2 separate regions of the Homo sapiens genome follow, and region 2 is linked to region 1. The links are contacts of gene promoters, found by promoter capture Hi-C in blood cells and fetal thymus (Javierre and others, 2016). All regions are on one chromosome and are shown on one strand. Each heading gives the region's core, a stretch centred on a gene start or on the middle of the fragment in contact. The rest is flanking DNA. Distances are from core to core; before and after follow the strand shown.

What was found. Contacts are between HindIII fragments. The CHiCAGO score rates a contact against its expected background, and 5 or more counts as called.
Region 2: the fragment with the promoter of SPRR2G here is called in contact with the fragment with the promoter of LCE3E in region 1 in 6 of 17 cell types (M1 macrophages, activated CD4 T cells, M2 macrophages and 3 more); the score reaches 8.9 in M1 macrophages.

The regions. Positions count from the first base shown.
Region 1 is chr1:152,564,533-152,569,124 of GRCh38, reverse strand. It overlaps LCE3E (late cornified envelope 3E), which reads left to right and starts at 2,345. Exons shown (of 2, transcript NM_178435.4): 1 at 2,345-2,387; 2 at 2,896-3,471. The coding sequence starts at 2,917. The coding sequence ends at 3,195. The HindIII fragment of the contact is 4,975 bases long and covers 1,204-4,592 here.
Region 2 is chr1:153,148,872-153,153,463 of GRCh38, reverse strand. It overlaps SPRR2G (small proline rich protein 2G), which reads left to right and starts at 2,574. Exons shown (of 2, transcript NM_001014291.4): 1 at 2,574-2,612; 2 at 3,333-3,882. The coding sequence starts at 3,354. The coding sequence ends at 3,575. The HindIII fragment of the contact is 711 bases long and covers 1,924-2,634 here.

The DNA of each region.
Region 1 (4,592 bases), core at 1,096-3,595:
AACAGCAAAAGAGAAAAGACCCATCATATACAAAAAAAATTAATAATAACATTAACAGCTGGTTTCTCATCAGAAACCATGGAGGACAGAAGCCAGTTGGATAACACATTCAAAGTGCTAAAGAAAAAAAAAGTAAACCAAGAGTTCTATATCCAGCAAAACTATTCTCCAAAAATTAAGACATTCCCAGATAAACAAAAATTGAGAAAATTTGTTTCCAGAAACCCTACTCTACAAAAAATACTAAAAGGATTAATTCAGTCTGAAATGAAATAACACTAGAGAGTATTTGAAATTTTTATGAAGAAACGAAGAGCATTTGTAAAGTTAACTACATGGTAAATATAAAAGACAGTATAAATGCATTTTGTGCTTTTAAGTCTTTTTTCTCCAATTTGATCTGAAAGACAACTGCATAAAGAAATACTTATAGAACTGCATTGATGGCCTTCTAATGTAAAGATATGATTTATATGACAATAACAGTATACAGAAGGGGGAGGGAACAAACCTACACAGGAGCAAAGCTTTGCGTGCTATCAAAATTAAGTTGGTATTGATCTGAGTTATAATCACTGTAAGTTAAGATGTTAATAAGAACTCCCAAGGAAACCACTAAGAAAATAACTCAAAAAATATACTAAAATATATAACATTGAAATTAAAAGGGTATACTAGAAAATGCCTGTTCAATAAAAAACAAAGCCATAGTGAAGAAAAAGAGGGGCAAAGAAAGTTATGAAATATATAGGAAATAAATAGTAAATGGTAGACATAAATTCTACCTTAATAGTAATTACATTAATTGTGAATAGATTAAATACCCCAATCAAAAGGCTAAGACTGGCAAAATGGATAAAATAGCATGAACTAACTATATGCTATCTATAAGACACACATTTTAGGCTCAAAGACAAAATAGATTCAAAGTAAAAGGTAGAAAAACATACACCATGCAATGGTAATCAAGAGATCTGGAGTGGCTATACAATACTGGACGAAATAGACTTTAAGACGAAATTAATGGCAGAGACAAAGAGGACATTTTATAATGACAAAAGGATCCATATCTATTAAAGAAATAATTATTATACATATATATGCACCTAACAATGGAGTCCCATATTACATGTAACAAAGACTAACAAAATTGAAGGGAGAAACAGACAACTCATAAACAATTTAACAATAATACTTGAAGCTTTCATACTCCACTTTCATTAATGGAAGAACAACTAGGAAGAAAATCAACAAACTGAAGACTTTAACAACACTATAAACCAATTAAATCTAACAGACATCTTGTTGAACACTCCAACCACAATAGCAGAATACACATTTTTCTCAATTGCACATGGAACATTCTGCAGGGTAGACCATTTGTTGGGTCATAAAAGAAGTATCATTAAATTTTAAAACACTGAAATCATACAAAGTATCATCCGTAACCACAGGAGAATGAAACTAGAAATCAATAACAGAAGGAAAACTGGAAAATTCAGAAATGTCTTAAGCAACCAATGAGTTCAGAAAGAAATCACAAGGAGAATTAGAAAATACTTTGAGATGAATGAAAATAAAAATACAACATACCAAAAATTATGGGATACAGCAAAGGAAATGCTTACAGGGAAATACATGGCTGCAAATGCCTACATTAAGGAAGAAGAAAAATCTCAAATCAATTACCTAACCTTCTGCCTTAAAACACTGAAAAAAAGAAGAAACTAAACATAAAGCAGGAGGAAGGAAATAATAAAGATTAAGTTTGTAGCTGCATTATTCACAATAACCAAAAATTGGAGCTAACTCAAATGTCCATCACTTGATGAATGGTTAAATAAAACGTGCTAAATTCATAAAGTGAAATATTACTCAACCATAAAGAAGAATGGAGTTCTGACACATGCTACAGCATGGATAAATCTTAAACAATATATTAAGTGAAAGAAGCTAATGCAAAATGCCATATATTATATGATTCTATTTATATGAAGTGTCCAGAATAGGCAAGTCCATACAGGCAAAAAATTGATTACTAGTTGCCAGAGGGGCAATGTGGAATAAGGAGTGACTACTAATGAGTGGTGATAAAAACAATTGCTTCAAGGAAGGTAGGATTGCAACCCCCAGCAGGCCTGAATGAGGTGAAGGTAAACAGGCGTCAGACCTTCCTGGTTCCCTCTTGTCAGGCATCTTGGTGAGTACACAGGAAGGTGATGAATGGATAGTCTCAAGGGTGTGCCTGGCTGTCACCTCCCCTGGTTGTGAAAGCAGCAGCATGCCCAGCCTGTGCATCACACACCCTGCACAGGATAAAAGCACTCCTGCCCTGGGCTCCTCCACAGTCTCCTCAGGAACAGCCTTCTCCTGCCTCTCTGCACCTGGTAAGTATTCAGCAGGGGACAGGGCTTGATATGGGATGTTAGAACAGAAAGCTAAGGCCATAGCAGAAGAGATGGAAACAGAGAGGTTTGAAACAAAGACCCAGATACAGGACTGTGAGAGGGCAGCAATGGGGGAAGGGGGCAGGAGGGAGACCCTGCAGGAACTGACAGCAATTCCATGACCTGCAAAGGCCACAGAGCTCACAATTCCCTCCCATCCTCTTTCTACTCAGGCAGGCACATTTCCTGTAACATCCATTCTACAGAATTCTTTTTCCCAAAAGGGTGCATTCCCTAGGGGTTCTTTGGAGAAACAGAAACACACGTGCCCACTTAGACTCACAGCAATCTGTCCCGGGTGGAGAGCAATGTGAGAAGTATCTGGCATATCCCACCAGCTCCACATCAGCTTCCCTCACCCTCTTGCAGCTCTTGCCTCAGGAGGCAGCTGGTCTTAGAGACGTTGGACTGTAGATTTTGAACTAAGAAGTGGCTTCGTTTTCTCCAGGACATCTCAACTCCTGCCAAGATGTCCTGCCAGCAGAACCAGAAGCAGTGCCAACCCCCACCCAAGTGCCCCTCACCCAAGTGTCCCCCAAAGAACCCAGTACAGTGTCTGCCTCCAGCTTCCTCTGGCTGTGCCCCAAGCTCTGGGGGCTGTGGCCCTAGCTCCGAGGGCGGCTGCTTCCTGAACCACCACAGGCGCCACCACCGATGCCGGCGCCAGAGGTCCAACTCCTGTGACAGGGGCAGTGGTCAGCAAGGCGGGGGCTCTGGCTGCTGCCACGGTTCTGGGGGCTGCTGCTGATCCAGATCCTGATGCTGAGACAAGCGATCTTTGGAGGAAACAAGAATCCCAAGAGGCCAAGAACAGCCCCATCTGACGCATGCCTTCCCATATACCCTCTTCTGACTTTCACAGGCTGAGCTGGAGGTTTTCCTGTGGGGGATCTGAGCTCTCCCCAGAAGGCACTTCTTGTTTTATGTACAGGATGTCATATGTCCCCCTACCCCTGTACCTGCCAAGGATTGGCAGTGCTTGTGCCCAACCTCGTAAAAAAGATAAAGTTCCTTGTCCTCATTACCACCAGCGTCCCACTGGGCATTTCACAGTCTCTCTCCTCAGCTCTTTGGTCAGTACAACCCAGCTCAGGAGCCAAACCTTATCTCTGCACCAGGAAAACATAGTGGATCCGACCCCGCTCCACTGATGGAAGGGAAGGGGAGAGTTTTATGTTGTAGTGGGAGGGAGAGAACGACACAGGTTGTGCTGGTTTGAGGCCCTGAAACTCAACCTCAAACTCAAAGAGGGTATCAGTGCAAAAATTGACTTTTCCTGTAAAATCTGAGAGGACATTAATACAATTGGGGAATTTCCAGTGTATGACAGAAGACCACTAGTTTGTTTTGATGAGCTGTTTCTGGAGTGCTAACTAAGAAACCGGAAATCAAAAGGCAAAAAAGCAGAAAATAGGCAGAAGAGAAGCAGAATCAAAAGATGGAGGGAAGAGATGTAAGCCTTGGGAAGAAGTATAACTCAGTGACTGAAAATCCAGGGAGAGAGATGAAAGCTGAGAGAGGTGCTTAAATTAATGAGATAATGGAGCAGAGATGTGGCTGGGAGTTTACTCAATGAGATTATTGGAATGTGCAAAATGAGAATTTTAGGAAAAAGAAAAAGGCAGAAAATGAGAAGTGTTCCTGGAATTATAAATAGATATACCAAAGAAGCAACAAATTATTAATTTTGTAACTACACGACCTTGACATCAACACATGGAAGTTACAACTTCAATGGAGTCACATGTTTTGGCCTAAATTGTGAGACTGAGATGCTCCTGGGGTTGAAGGAATGTTTTTTTATGTGAACTAAGAGTAACATCTCACTTTGACTACCAGAAAACCAGAGAAGTGTCACGTAGAGCTACAGTCAAATTACAAATACTAAGAGAAGTTGATGTGAGGGCTAAGTAGAGCAGGTGGAGGGGGGGCATTAAAAATAAAGATGGATAACCTTATAAGTCCATTGAACTAAAAAAGGATTTTGTCAAATCCTATAAATTAATTCTTAAAATTTAGGGATCAAAAAGACCCTGAGGCCCAGCATGGTGACTCACACCTGTAATCCCAGCATTTTGGGAGGCCAAGGCAGGTGGGTCACTTGAGGTCAGGAGTTCAAAACCAGCCTGGACAACATGGTGAAAC
Region 2 (4,592 bases), core at 1,325-3,824, 580 kb before region 1:
AAAATGTCCGTCAGAGAAGTATTATTATTACCATTTCTCAATGAAGAAACTGAAAATTGCAGAAATGTTAAGAAAATTGCTCAAATTTACACACCTAATTAGGACTTAACTCAATCATTGTGTTTATACAGTGCCAGTTTGCTAACATAGTATTTACTCACAGATTTATTTATTTCAATTTTAAAATATCTTTGAACATTTAAATATTTAAACACTTTGAATAAGCAAAAAATATACATGATACCAAAATTCAAAAGAGAAGAAAATGGTCATGCAGTGAAAAGTTAGTCTCTCCCCCACTCCTATTCCCTAGATACTTAACTATTCTCCTGAGATAACCACGGTTACTAGTTTATAAGTAAACTCCAGCAAACCCTCATGTAGATACTATGTGAGTTTCAGAGGTTTAATTTGCACAGAGTGCTTCAAGTGCCCATTATTTGTGAAAAATGAGGATCATCTGTCCTTTAGCTATTTTCTCTCTCTATAAAAAAACTGTCCTTTGTGAAGCTGGCAAACCTCATTAAGCATTCTTTTCTGAAAAGCCCAATCCTCCTTCAGTTTATCAAGCATAAATGATAAACCAAATAATTTATTGGTAAAAATAACTTTGGAATCTATTAGTAATTCATGAGGCAAAGAAAAGTAGGTCTAAAATTGTGTTGATAGAACTGTTTTAAGTCACGTAATCCTTAGCTAATTCTTCAGCATGCATCAGCTATGGTTCCTAGGATTTCAACATGAGAAAGAACGCTGTGAAAGTGCCTCACCCATCCCAGGAGCATCCCTGTTCCTTCTGGCATCCCTGAAGTGTGTCAGTTTCCTGATAGTAACTTAGATGACTAAATTGTTTAGTTTCAGAGTACTAGGGAGGGATAACTAGCCTCATGTTGTTCCTCTGAGATGCTGAGAAAGAATTTAATAGTAGGGCTCAACTCAAAGACGTTCCTACCTCTTCAAATTCCCATGTTAGGTCCTCAGTTTTTTTTGTTTCTCTACTGTACCAACCCAATCAAGTTTGAAACATTGCAGATACAACACAGCATTCTTCTGGGTAAAGAGCACAAGGCAAAAATCTTCCCTGAGAGGGGCTTTCTCAGGAAAACAAGGTGCCGACCCTGTAGGTGCTATGGTACCCATGCCGTCTAATTAGTAGTGACTACAGCTAGAAGAATGGGGGATGCAGGGAAAGGATCTTCACTAGATAGGCCTCACTCTAAACAATGCCATTCTTTATTATCTGTTTTTGACATGTTTGAAATTATTGGTTAGTTATGATTAGTTATTATTCTTATTTCTTCTACATTTTAGAGTTTATATTTCTTAGAAGACCCACTATGTAATGTGCATAATTTTAGGCCACTCTTTGAGTTTTTGTAGGAGACTTTTGTGGTAGGTGTATTTTTTATTTCTGTTTTACAGCTGTGTAAACTGTGTTTCAAGGAGGTTAGGAAATATTTAGTTCCACACAGTAGTGGTGGCTGTAGATGTATGCATAACCAAGGTACTCAAGTTTTTTCCAAGTTGGGACAGTGAGTAATACTAGCTGAAGTGTTAATATGGTTAAATAAGCTATACTAAGAAATTATCCGTGGGATCTGTGCCAGCTATACTTTACTTATTTAGGTAAAAACATCCATGAAGTAAACAGCAGGATAAATAGCTTTACAGAACTTCACTCCTCGAATGTGCAAAGAAAGCCTGAAATCCTACTAAATGTCATTTCAAAAGAGAGAAATTGTGAAGGAGTAAATTGAATTAGCATGTAGGAGAAAAGCTTCAAAATGGATGCAGCACATACATTAAGGCAGTTTGGAAGAAAATGGGAGAAGATGAGTTTGGATTTCTAGTAGACCACAAGTCACTCATAGTTACAAGGGCCACAGAGATGAGGTTAGTGTGTAAATCTGCAAATGTGAAGCTTTAAGAAGGGGCCCCAACATGACTCTAATGGCCTAGAAAACTGAGAGATGATGTTGCCTTGTTCAAGCCCATTAATACCATGTCAGAACACACCCAGGTTGGGGCTGTCAGCATCTAGGAAGCTGATATATGATTTTGTCACCCTGTTCAAGTCAATTAATTGTCAAGAAAAGCCTAAGGATCAATAGGCCATGATAAAAGGGGAAGTTAGTTGTAAAGAAAAACTGCAGTTGAGGGTTAGGATATAGCCAGGCTGCAGGATCAGCACATACTGGTCTCTACTAAAGAGAACACAGCTAGATACTGGGCATGTGCAACTGAATGGGAGTAGTTTTACATACAGGATACTTTGGAAGCTGGGAAGTAGGAGAAGCACCATCTCTAATTATAGGGAAGCACCACAATTGTCAGACAATTTGTCACGTTCTACAATTGCCACTGGCATGAGGAACCTGAGATAATGTCCCAAGTGAATCACTGTGCACTTATCCTGCTGGGGAGGATCATGGACTAGGAATTTTGTGATACCAGCATGGATTACATGCAAGTGGTATTTTGGTTGGGAAATAAGCACATCATGCTAGTCCTGGGCTGTTCCCTGTGTAGGGCTGCCTGCCCCTTATAAAAGGACTCTCCACCACACTGATGCTATCTTCTTGCCATTCAGTTGTAGATCTTTGAAGACTCTGGTGAGTACAAATATTAGAAGCTTTTCTTGCACTTGGATGGTGTTAGGGTCTAACCTGGGTACAGAAATGCCTGTTTATTTTAACCAATTTATCCTCATGGATAGGAAAAAGAAGATAATGAGGTCTTGAAGGTAAATTTTAGCTGGTATTTGGTAGATAAACATGAAGGTGATGAGGAACCTGGAGTCAAATATATAAAATCTTAAACTGAAGGAGAGTGAGAGACACAAGATGCTGTTCTGTCTCCTGCTTCACATCTGTTCCAAATACATCTCTCTTGGAGTGCAATCTCCTTGGGTGATGGGTGCAAGTTTTTGCAATTCTCTTAAAAAACTCATGGCTCAGCACCACAGCCAGCTCATTAAAACTGGTAACTAGGGCCTCATGGAAGATAAGAGCACAGATTTGTTTGGTATTGGCTAGACTTTTAATATCTGAGTTTTTCTTCTTCAGATAGTGTTTGTATTCAGACAACATTTGTTGCTGTCTCATAGGCAATTTTATTTTCAGAAAATGGTAGAATGAGAGAACAGCCAGAAAGACGGAAGAACTGAGGGTAAGAGGTCCTAAAAGTGAAGTGTGAAGAAGGTTCACAAAGTCATAAAGACTGTATTAGGGATCAAAGTTGGTCCCTAGATACTGGAGATTTGATGTCCTAGCTAATTGCTCCACCAACAGGACTGTCTCTCTTATGAGCACTGTTTCGTATGTATCTTTCAGATTCTCTGAGACTGAGGAGAGATGTCTTACCAGCAGCAGCAGTGCAAGCAGCCCTGCCAGCCACCTCCTGTGTGCCCCACGCCAAAGTGCCCAGAGCCATGTCCACCCCCGAAGTGCCCTGAGCCTTACCTGCCTCCTCCTTGTCCACCTGAGCATTGCCCACCTCCACCATGCCAGGATAAATGCCCTCCTGTGCAACCATACCCACCCTGCCAGCAGAAGTATCCACCCAAGAGCAAGTAACATCACTAGAATTCATCAGGACCATGAAACAACAAGATCCAGTGGCTCTTCTTACTCCCAGGACTCCATCATCTTCCCTTCAGCTGTAGTGGGAGGCTGCATCTTCCCTAACCTCTGTCTGGCTTGAGCGTTGACAGAGAAAAGGCTTAGTTCTGAAAACCGATATGTTGTTGGAAGATGAGCAGCCAGATCACTGCCTAATCTCGCTTTGCTGTCTGTGATGTAGATGGTGGTTCCTATCCTGAGAGCAAGTGTGTTTATTCTTTTGCTTCTCCCCAATAAAGCACATGTTTCATGGTCAAGCCCACATTGCTTTTGTTTGCATTTCGTGTCTTTAACCTCTTCTGTTAACTACACCAAGTGAATGTTCCTTTTCATTCCTATTGAATTATTAGAATTATTAGGCTTTTCCATCACTGAATTCAGTGTTGCGTGCAATGTGTGTTTTGGATTCGGTACAACAAATAATTCTCTTTTATTGGTTTAAAACTCATTTTTACCCCTTCTAGCTTGTATGGCTGAAAAAATTACCTAAACTCTCTTAGCTTCAGTTTCATCATCTGTAAAAAGTAAGAGAGCATGTATTCAGCTGAGTGTACTCATAGCAATTGATTTATTCACAAATGTTTCCTAATTGTCTATCATGTGCCAGCCAGTCTTCTATGCACTGCTGATAGGGATAATGATGACCAAACAAAGTCCTTGCTCTTATAGAGTCTACAGTCTTAAGAGAGTTACATATCACCCCCACCCCCCGACCCCCACACACCTCCCACACACAGGACAAATTATAGTAATACATGGGCTATATTTAAAGAAAATTATTTAGAAAGACCCTTTGAAGTGACTTTTGGCTCAAAGACATGAATGAATAGAAGAGGGAGCCATGGGTATATCAGGGGTAGATTGTTCCTGTTGGAAGAAATGGCCAGTGCTAAAGAAATACAAAATAACATTAGCCGGGCGTGGTGGTGGGCGCCTGTAGTCCCAGCTACTCGGGAGGCTGAGGCAGGAGAA